Regions from separate parts of the Homo sapiens genome. Here region 2 is linked to region 1. Evidence: promoter capture Hi-C in human tissues and cell types (Jung and others, 2019). All regions are on one chromosome and are shown on one strand. The core of a region is centred on a gene start or on the middle of the fragment in contact, and the rest is flanking DNA. Distances in the headings are between cores, read along the strand shown.

What was found. Contacts are between HindIII fragments. The study calls those that stand out against the background at their distance.
Region 2: a contact is called between a fragment that was not itself captured here and the fragment with the promoter of DLL4 in region 1, in 2 of the 25 tissues and cell types used here (lymphoblastoid cells and spleen).

The regions. Positions count from the first base shown.
Region 1 is chr15:40,927,712-40,931,465 of GRCh38, forward strand. DLL4 (delta like canonical Notch ligand 4) reads left to right here and starts at 1,629. Exons shown (of 11, transcript NM_019074.4): 1 at 1,629-2,023; 2 at 2,136-2,405; 3 at 2,914-2,971. The coding sequence starts at 1,958. RefSeq lists silencers at 771-840, 1,434-1,523. The HindIII fragment of the contact is 17,329 bases long and covers 1-3,754 here.
Region 2 is chr15:41,310,820-41,314,573 of GRCh38, forward strand. OIP5 (Opa interacting protein 5) reads right to left here. Exons shown (of 5, transcript NM_007280.2): 4 at 2,454-2,535. OIP5-AS1 (OIP5 antisense RNA 1) reads left to right here. Exons shown (of 5, transcript NR_152821.1): 5 at 1,079-2,519. Among named protein-coding and RNA genes, the nearest start is that of OIP5, 20 kb to the right of the region's middle. The HindIII fragment of the contact is 4,895 bases long and covers 1-3,754 here.

The DNA of each region.
Region 1 (3,754 bases), core at 379-2,878:
CGCGCCAGATGGTGGCTGGGAGGGGTGGCCGTGCGTGGGGGACCCCGGAGCCCGTCTCCTCACCTCGCCCCTCCCCCAACCCACGCTCCCAACCTCTTGTTTCTCATCCTTCCCCCCCCCACCACACCCGTCCCCCAGTCCTCCACCACCACCACCCAACTCAAAAAAAAAAATCAGACCATGCTCGGCATTGGCAGCTGTTGGGCTTCTCGCCGCTCCCCCACCCTTACCGCCTCCCCCGGGTTCGCGCCGCGTCCCGGCTCCCCCCCCGCGCTGATCTTACCGCCCGACTACAGCCATCACCTCGCGGGCGGGCTGACAGCTGAAGCCACAGGGCCCCCGCTGCCCTCGGCGTCGCAAAGAGAGAGCTCCCCGGCACCCCTGAGACTGGGAGAAGCCGGCCCTCCCCGGTCTGCGGTCTCCGGGGATCACGCCGGGTTCCGAGAAAGCAGCTGCGCTGCTGCCGCTTGGAGGAGTGGGGCCACCCAGGGGACCCTCTCGGGCGAGACTTGGGAAGCCGCCTGAAACTCAAACAGCTCCGCAAGCCTCCAGTTCCACCCCACATCCCGCCTTATGAGGCGAGGACCCGGGCCGACCCGGCCTCAGTCCCTCACCTTGATTCTCCAGTGGCCTGAGCCAACTCTGGCGTCAGGAGAGTTCCTCCTTGCCCCAGCTGAGCGACAGGGCGCGGCCGGGGGCTTGGGGCTGCTGGGGTGGGGGGAGGCAGTGGGCGCAGGAACTGAAGCTGGACTCAGGTGAGGGGACGCGCTGGAGGCGGGGCCAGAACCTCATTACCATACAGCTGAGGACGCGCCCCCCTCCTACCTCCGGGACCACGCCCCGCCCTCCCCCACCTCAGGGACCGCGCGTCTGGGTCTCTGGCACGCGCCAAGCCCTGGCAGGGGGCAGAAGGGAGAAGGCACGCGCTGGGCACGCCCCCCCTTAGCTAGAGAGGGAGACGCCCAACAGGTGCACAGAGAGGGCCCCGAGCCTTAGACCCTTAGCCCCTAGCCTTGCTCAGAGTGGCCACAGAGAGGTTAACGCTTCTGCTGGCTTCCCTGCTGCGCTGGGGACGCGTGGTGGGTGGGCACTCATAGGTTGGGGGCCGTTGAGACAAGGGCTCCAGAAGCTCCAGGAAGGAAAAGGAGATCGGATTTCCCTAGCGCTGGTTTTTGCATTCCGGGCTTAAGTTCTTTTTACCTGCTTTGGAACACTAGGTAACTAGCGCCTGCTGCGGATGCACAGCCTACAGGGACTGCCTAGTGTCTCCGCCCCCAAGACCATCCCCGAACCACCCACTCACCTCCTGCCCCATTACCGGGCAACCCCTCTATCCTCCGGCGGCCAGGGTCTCAGCCCTTAACCCCGCCATCACGGAGGACTGGTCACCTCGGCACGCGCAGAGCTGGGGGACCTAGAGGTTGGGAGCGGCACGGAGGGGCGGGGACCTGCGCCCGACTGGCTGACGGGGAGGGGGGAGCGGCGGGGGCGGAGGCCCCCTCCGGGCGGCGCTGGGACTGTAGCAGCTAGAGGCCGGGAGGGGAGGGGAGAATGACCATGAGTCTGAGTGACAGGCGGCGAGGAGAGGAGCCAATATATATAAGGAAGGCCCCCAGCGCGCAGGTTTCAGTAGCGGCGCTGCGCGCAGGCCGGGAACACGAGGCCAAGAGCCGCAGCCCCAGCCGCCTTGGTGCAGCGTACACCGGCACTAGCCCGCTTGCAGCCCCAGGATTAGACAGAAGACGCGTCCTCGGCGCGGTCGCCGCCCAGCCGTAGTCACCTGGATTACCTACAGCGGCAGCTGCAGCGGAGCCAGCGAGAAGGCCAAAGGGGAGCAGCGTCCCGAGAGGAGCGCCTCTTTTCAGGGACCCCGCCGGCTGGCGGACGCGCGGGAAAGCGGCGTCGCGAACAGAGCCAGATTGAGGGCCCGCGGGTGGAGAGAGCGACGCCCGAGGGGATGGCGGCAGCGTCCCGGAGCGCCTCTGGCTGGGCGCTACTGCTGCTGGTGGCACTTTGGCAGCAGGTAACACGTCCCGCGCCCTCTCCGTCCCCTCTGCCGCGCTCTGGGCCTCAGCCCCGGGCACCAGCTGAGCTGACCGGTCCCCTCCCTCCTTCCCTCGGTCCCTGTGCAATAGCGCGCGGCCGGCTCCGGCGTCTTCCAGCTGCAGCTGCAGGAGTTCATCAACGAGCGCGGCGTACTGGCCAGTGGGCGGCCTTGCGAGCCCGGCTGCCGGACTTTCTTCCGCGTCTGCCTTAAGCACTTCCAGGCGGTCGTCTCGCCCGGACCCTGCACCTTCGGGACCGTCTCCACGCCGGTATTGGGCACCAACTCCTTCGCTGTCCGGGACGACAGTAGCGGCGGGGGGCGCAACCCTCTCCAACTGCCCTTCAATTTCACCTGGCCGGTGAGCACAGCCTGGGCGCACTGGGAGGTCGCAGAAGCCGAGAGAGGAGGCGCCCTGGGACCAAAGCCCCCTCCCCAGATTTCCTTGTACACACACCCCCACCCCCAAAAAGCCCAGGATGCATTCTTTCCTGGCTCTTCCCGACTCTCTCCTGAGACTGATCCCAGAAAAGGCTCTCACCAGTCTCCGTCTTCCCAGTTTATGTCCTCCCGTCCCCAGCTCTTGGGACACGATTTTCATTACCTACCACTCTGGGGCGGTACCCTACCACCCCCTCCTCCAGTGGCTCTCCCTTACACTCTCCCGTCTCTCAACCCTCCCTCTACCGGGGGTTCTCCTCTCGCCTTCCCTGCTCAAGCGCTACACTGTGCACAGCCCCGTTATGTTGACCCGGGCGCAGTAACTGAATCCTGCAATTAGATTAATTAAACAGGCTGCCGCAAGGCACCCCCACCTCTCCCCGCTTGCTCATCTCGCCATCTCTCCGTCCCCCCACCCCCTTTCCCAGGGTACCTTCTCGCTCATCATCGAAGCTTGGCACGCGCCAGGAGACGACCTGCGGCCAGGTGAGTAGCTCGCTCCGCCACCACAGGGGGGCGACACGGCGCAGCGCCGAAAGAGTTAATCTGTTCTAGGCGGGGGAAGTGCGGGCTTGGGGGTGGGAGGCAGGACGCTTAGCTTGGCCTGGAGCTGCGCCCCGCGCTGGACGCTCGGATTCCGCTCGCTGCCTGGACTCAGAGCACAATTGCGTTTCCTGCGGGTTATTTTTGGCGTGGGAACGCGGGGAGTACGGCGGTGAGAAAGGCTGAAGCTGCCAGCGCCGCTGACGGGCCCCTTCCTGTATTTTACACCTTTCGCGAATTCCGCTCCTTTGGAAAGGGAATAATGGCTTTGGGATGTTGTTCTGACACAGAGGAAAAGGATATTTCAGCAGCACAACAATTCTCACTTTGAAAAGGAAAAAAGAAAACCATTACCCACCTCTGGAGGCAGAACCCCTGAATGGGCACCAAAGGACCCCCTGCTCCCAGGGTCCTCTCTAGCCTGGGGAGCTTTTCTTTCTTTTTCTCTTTTTTCCATTTTGACCTCTTTTCCTCTTTCCCCTCCCTATCTGCCTCCAAGACCCTGGGATATCTTAACATCCTTCTATTGTCCCCTTTTTGAATACTATCAGGCCCCCTGCACATGCACACACGTAGGGCAGCTACGTAGCGGGGCTTTGGGTCCCTCTGGCCTGTTCTTGCTGGCAGGCGGGGGTCATCTGGATAACTGGGCTGATTGGTTGGCTGATCACCATCATCACAGCCAAGAAGGACATTGGCCAGCCGTCACTGGCACCCTTGGGGACT
Region 2 (3,754 bases), core at 339-2,838, 380 kb after region 1:
CCTCTCTGACTTTAACATTCTACTAATGGTCTGCAAAGTTAACTCTGGTTATTAGGTTTAGAACAGATAACTGTTGCAATTAGGTAATTTTTAAGAGTTCTTACAGCTATATTTAGCATGAAATTTAGTGTTGTTACTCAGCAGGGCAAGAGCAGTGGCTTCTGATAATCTCCATTCGCCCCTCCCAGCATAGGATTTCCACCCTACAAGCAAGCTGGGGGCAAGGGCAACTGGGTTCCCAGCTACTGGGGAGGCTGAAGCAGAAGCACTTGAACCTGGCACTCACACCTGTAATCCCAGCAGTTTGGTAGGCCGAGGCGGGTGGGTCACCTGAGCTCGGAAGTTCGAGAACAGCCTGGCCATCATTTTTAGCAGAGATGGTAAAACCCCGTCTCTACTAAAAATACAAAAATTATCTGGGCACGGTAGTGCGCGCCTGTAGTCCCAGGTACTCAGGAGGCTTTTTAGTATTTTTAGTAGAGACAAGGATTCTCCATGTGGGAGAATCGCTTGAACCCGGGAGGAGGGGGTTGCAGTGACCCAAGACTGTGCCACTGCATTCCAGCCTGGGAGGCAGAGTGAGACTTTGTCTCAAAAATAAATAAACAAATAAATGTTTCTGTATTTGCCATATACCTTGAAGAAAATTTCCACAGACTTAAGATGGTTGTTTCCTTTATAATATTCTTCCTGGATCCTATCCATGGAACTCCTCATACTGCCATTCCAAAGTCATTTCCCATACCAATTATTATTATTATTATTTTTGAAATAGATTCTCACTGTCACCCAGGCTAGAATGCAATGGCGTGATCTTGGCTCACTGCAACCTCTGCCATCCAGGTCCAAGCGATTCTCCTGCTTCAGCCTCCTGAGTAGCTGGGGCTGGGATTATAGGCGCCTGCCACTGCGCCTGGCTAATTTTTCTAGTTTTAGTAGAGACGGGGTTTCACCATCTTGGCCAGGCTGAACTCCTGACCTCATGATCCACCCACCTCGGCTTCTCAAAGTGCTGGGATTACAGGTGTGAGCCACCGCACCCAGCCAATAAGAATTCTTTTTTTTTTTTTCCACACAGAGTTTCGCTCTCAATGGCAAGCTCTCGGCTCACTGCAACCTCTGCCTCCCAGGTTCAAGCGATTCTCCTGCCTCAGCCTCCCGAAAAGCTGGGATTATAGGCATGCGCCAACACGCCCGGCTAATTTTGTATTTTTAGTAGAGATGGGATTTCTCCATGTTGGTCAGGCTGGTCTCAAACTCCCGACCTGAGGTGATCTGCCTGCCTCAGCCTCCCAAAGTGCTGGGATTACAGGCATAAGCCACCATGCCCAGCCTTCTTTTTTTCTTTTTTTTTTTTTTGAGACAGATTTTCACTCTTGTTGCTCAGGCTAGAGTGCAATGGCATGATCTTGCCTCACAACAACCTCTATCTCGCAGGTTCAAGTGCTTCTCCTGTCTCAACCTCCCAAGTAGCTGGGATTACAGGCATGTGCCACCACGCCCGGCTAATTTTGTATTTTTAGTAGAGACAGGGTTTCTCCATGTTGGTCAGGCTGGTCTCGAACTACTGATCTCGGGTTATCCATCCGCCTCAGCCTCCCAAAGTGCTGGGATTACAGGCGTGAGCCACCACGCCCAGGCAAGAATTATTTTTTTTTGAGACGCAGTCTCGCTCTGTTGCCCAGGCTGGAGTGCAGTGGCGCAGTCTCGGCTCACTGCAACCTCCACCACCTGGGTTCAAGCGATTCTCCTGCCTCAGTCTCCTAAGTAGCTGGGATTACAGGCGCCCACCACCATGACCGGCTAAATTTTTTTTTTTTTTTTTTTTGAGACAGAGTCTTGCTCTGTTGCCCAGGCTGGAATGCAGTGGCGCAATCTCAGCTCACTGCAACCTCCACCTCCCAGTTCAAGCAATTCTCCTGCCTCTGCCTCCCGAGTAGCTGGGACTACAGGCACGTGCCACCACGCCCGGCTAATTTTTTGTATTTGTAATAGAGATGGGGTTTCACTGTGTTAGCCAGGATGGTCTCCATCTCCTGACCTCATGTTCTGCTCGCCTTGGCCTACCAAAGTGCTGGGATTACAGGCGTGAGCCACCACGCCCGGCCAGGAATTCTTAATAACTGTTTCATCACTCTTATGTCTGAGACAGTTGAGCAATTACAAGGTATTTGCAAAGAAGACACCTCTATGGCAAGATGATGATATCCATTCCCAGCACAAAGGAGAATGCAGGAGTGCAGCAGTTGAGCAGCTTTTCCTTTCTTCCTGAACTATACCTTACAGTGTGGTTTTAGTATTTTGTTTTTCATTACAAATTCAATAGGGAAGGTCAAATCAAGTAAAAAGGATTATTGAGCATCATGCCATTTCATCATCCCCAAGTTCATTGGTAGAAGTTATCAAGAGTTGTCTGTATTTTAAAAAAGCATACAACCATCATGAAATTTTACCTCTGCAATCTTTTCTGATAGAGGAACATTTTGAATATCCATCTCTGATGCATTTACTATGGCTTTTGTTTTTAAGAGATAGCTAGATAGGAAAAAAGAAAAATATTAGTGTCATACCATGGTTAAGATTATAAAAGAACCAAACTTACCTTCTAAAGAAAGTATGTGTCAAAAAAAGCCTGGCTTCTTAATGATTTTCATTTCAAGACTCATGATGTTACAGTTGGCCCACCATATCCATGGGTATAGCATCCATGGATTCAAACAACCACAGACTAAAAATATTCAGGAAAAAAAAACTGGATTGTGTCTGTACTGAACAGGTACACTCTTTTTCTTGTCATCATTCCCTTAACATTACAACAACTTTGTAAATTTCCTATGTAAATTTGTAATGTACATAGCATTTACATTACGTTAGCTGTCATAAGTAATCTGGAGATTATTTTAAAGTATAAAATATATACTTTTATACTTTAAAAAGGAGGATATCCAAAAGTAATATGCAAATATTACACCACTTAATATCAGAAACTTGAGTGTCCATGGATTTTGGTATCTGGTGAGGTCCTGGAACCACAGATACTGAAGGATGACTGCATTTTCTTGGAAAAACAAATTCAAAAATAAACAAATTGGAGAGGATCTCTGCCGCATCCCACCAGAGACAAAATTATCTCAGGGTAAATTAAAGACAAAAACCAGGCTCATATGAATAATTACGATGATTATAAGCTTTACACTTCATCAGTAGGATCCTGTAGCACAGTTTGAAAGAAAGTAATCCCAGTATGAGACATAGTGTTGGTCACCTATTCCCAGTAGCTGTTCCTCACTTTTTTTTTTTGAGATGGAGTCTCGCTCTGTTGCCCAGACTAGAGTGCAGTGGTACAATCTCAGCTCACTGCAACCTCTGCCTCCTGGGTTCAAGCGATTCTCCTGCCGCAGCCTCCCGAGTAGCTGGGATTACAGGCTTGCGCCACCACGCCCAGCTAATTTTTGTATTTTTAGTAGAGATGGGGTTTCACCATGTTGGCGAGGCTGGTCTCGAACTCCTGACCTCAGGTGATCCCCCTGCCTGGGCCTCCCAAAGTGCTGGGATTATAGGCGTGAGCCGAGCCCAGCCTTCCTCACTTCTTTATTGCCAACAGAATCCAGATTTTTGCCATGAGCCTACTGTTACATATTTGCTTTCTCAGATGAGGTGATCATGTGACATAGTTCTGGCCAACAAGGGTAAGAAAATGGGATGGGTGTGCTGGCTCACACCTATAATCCCAGCACTTTGGGAGGCTGAGGCA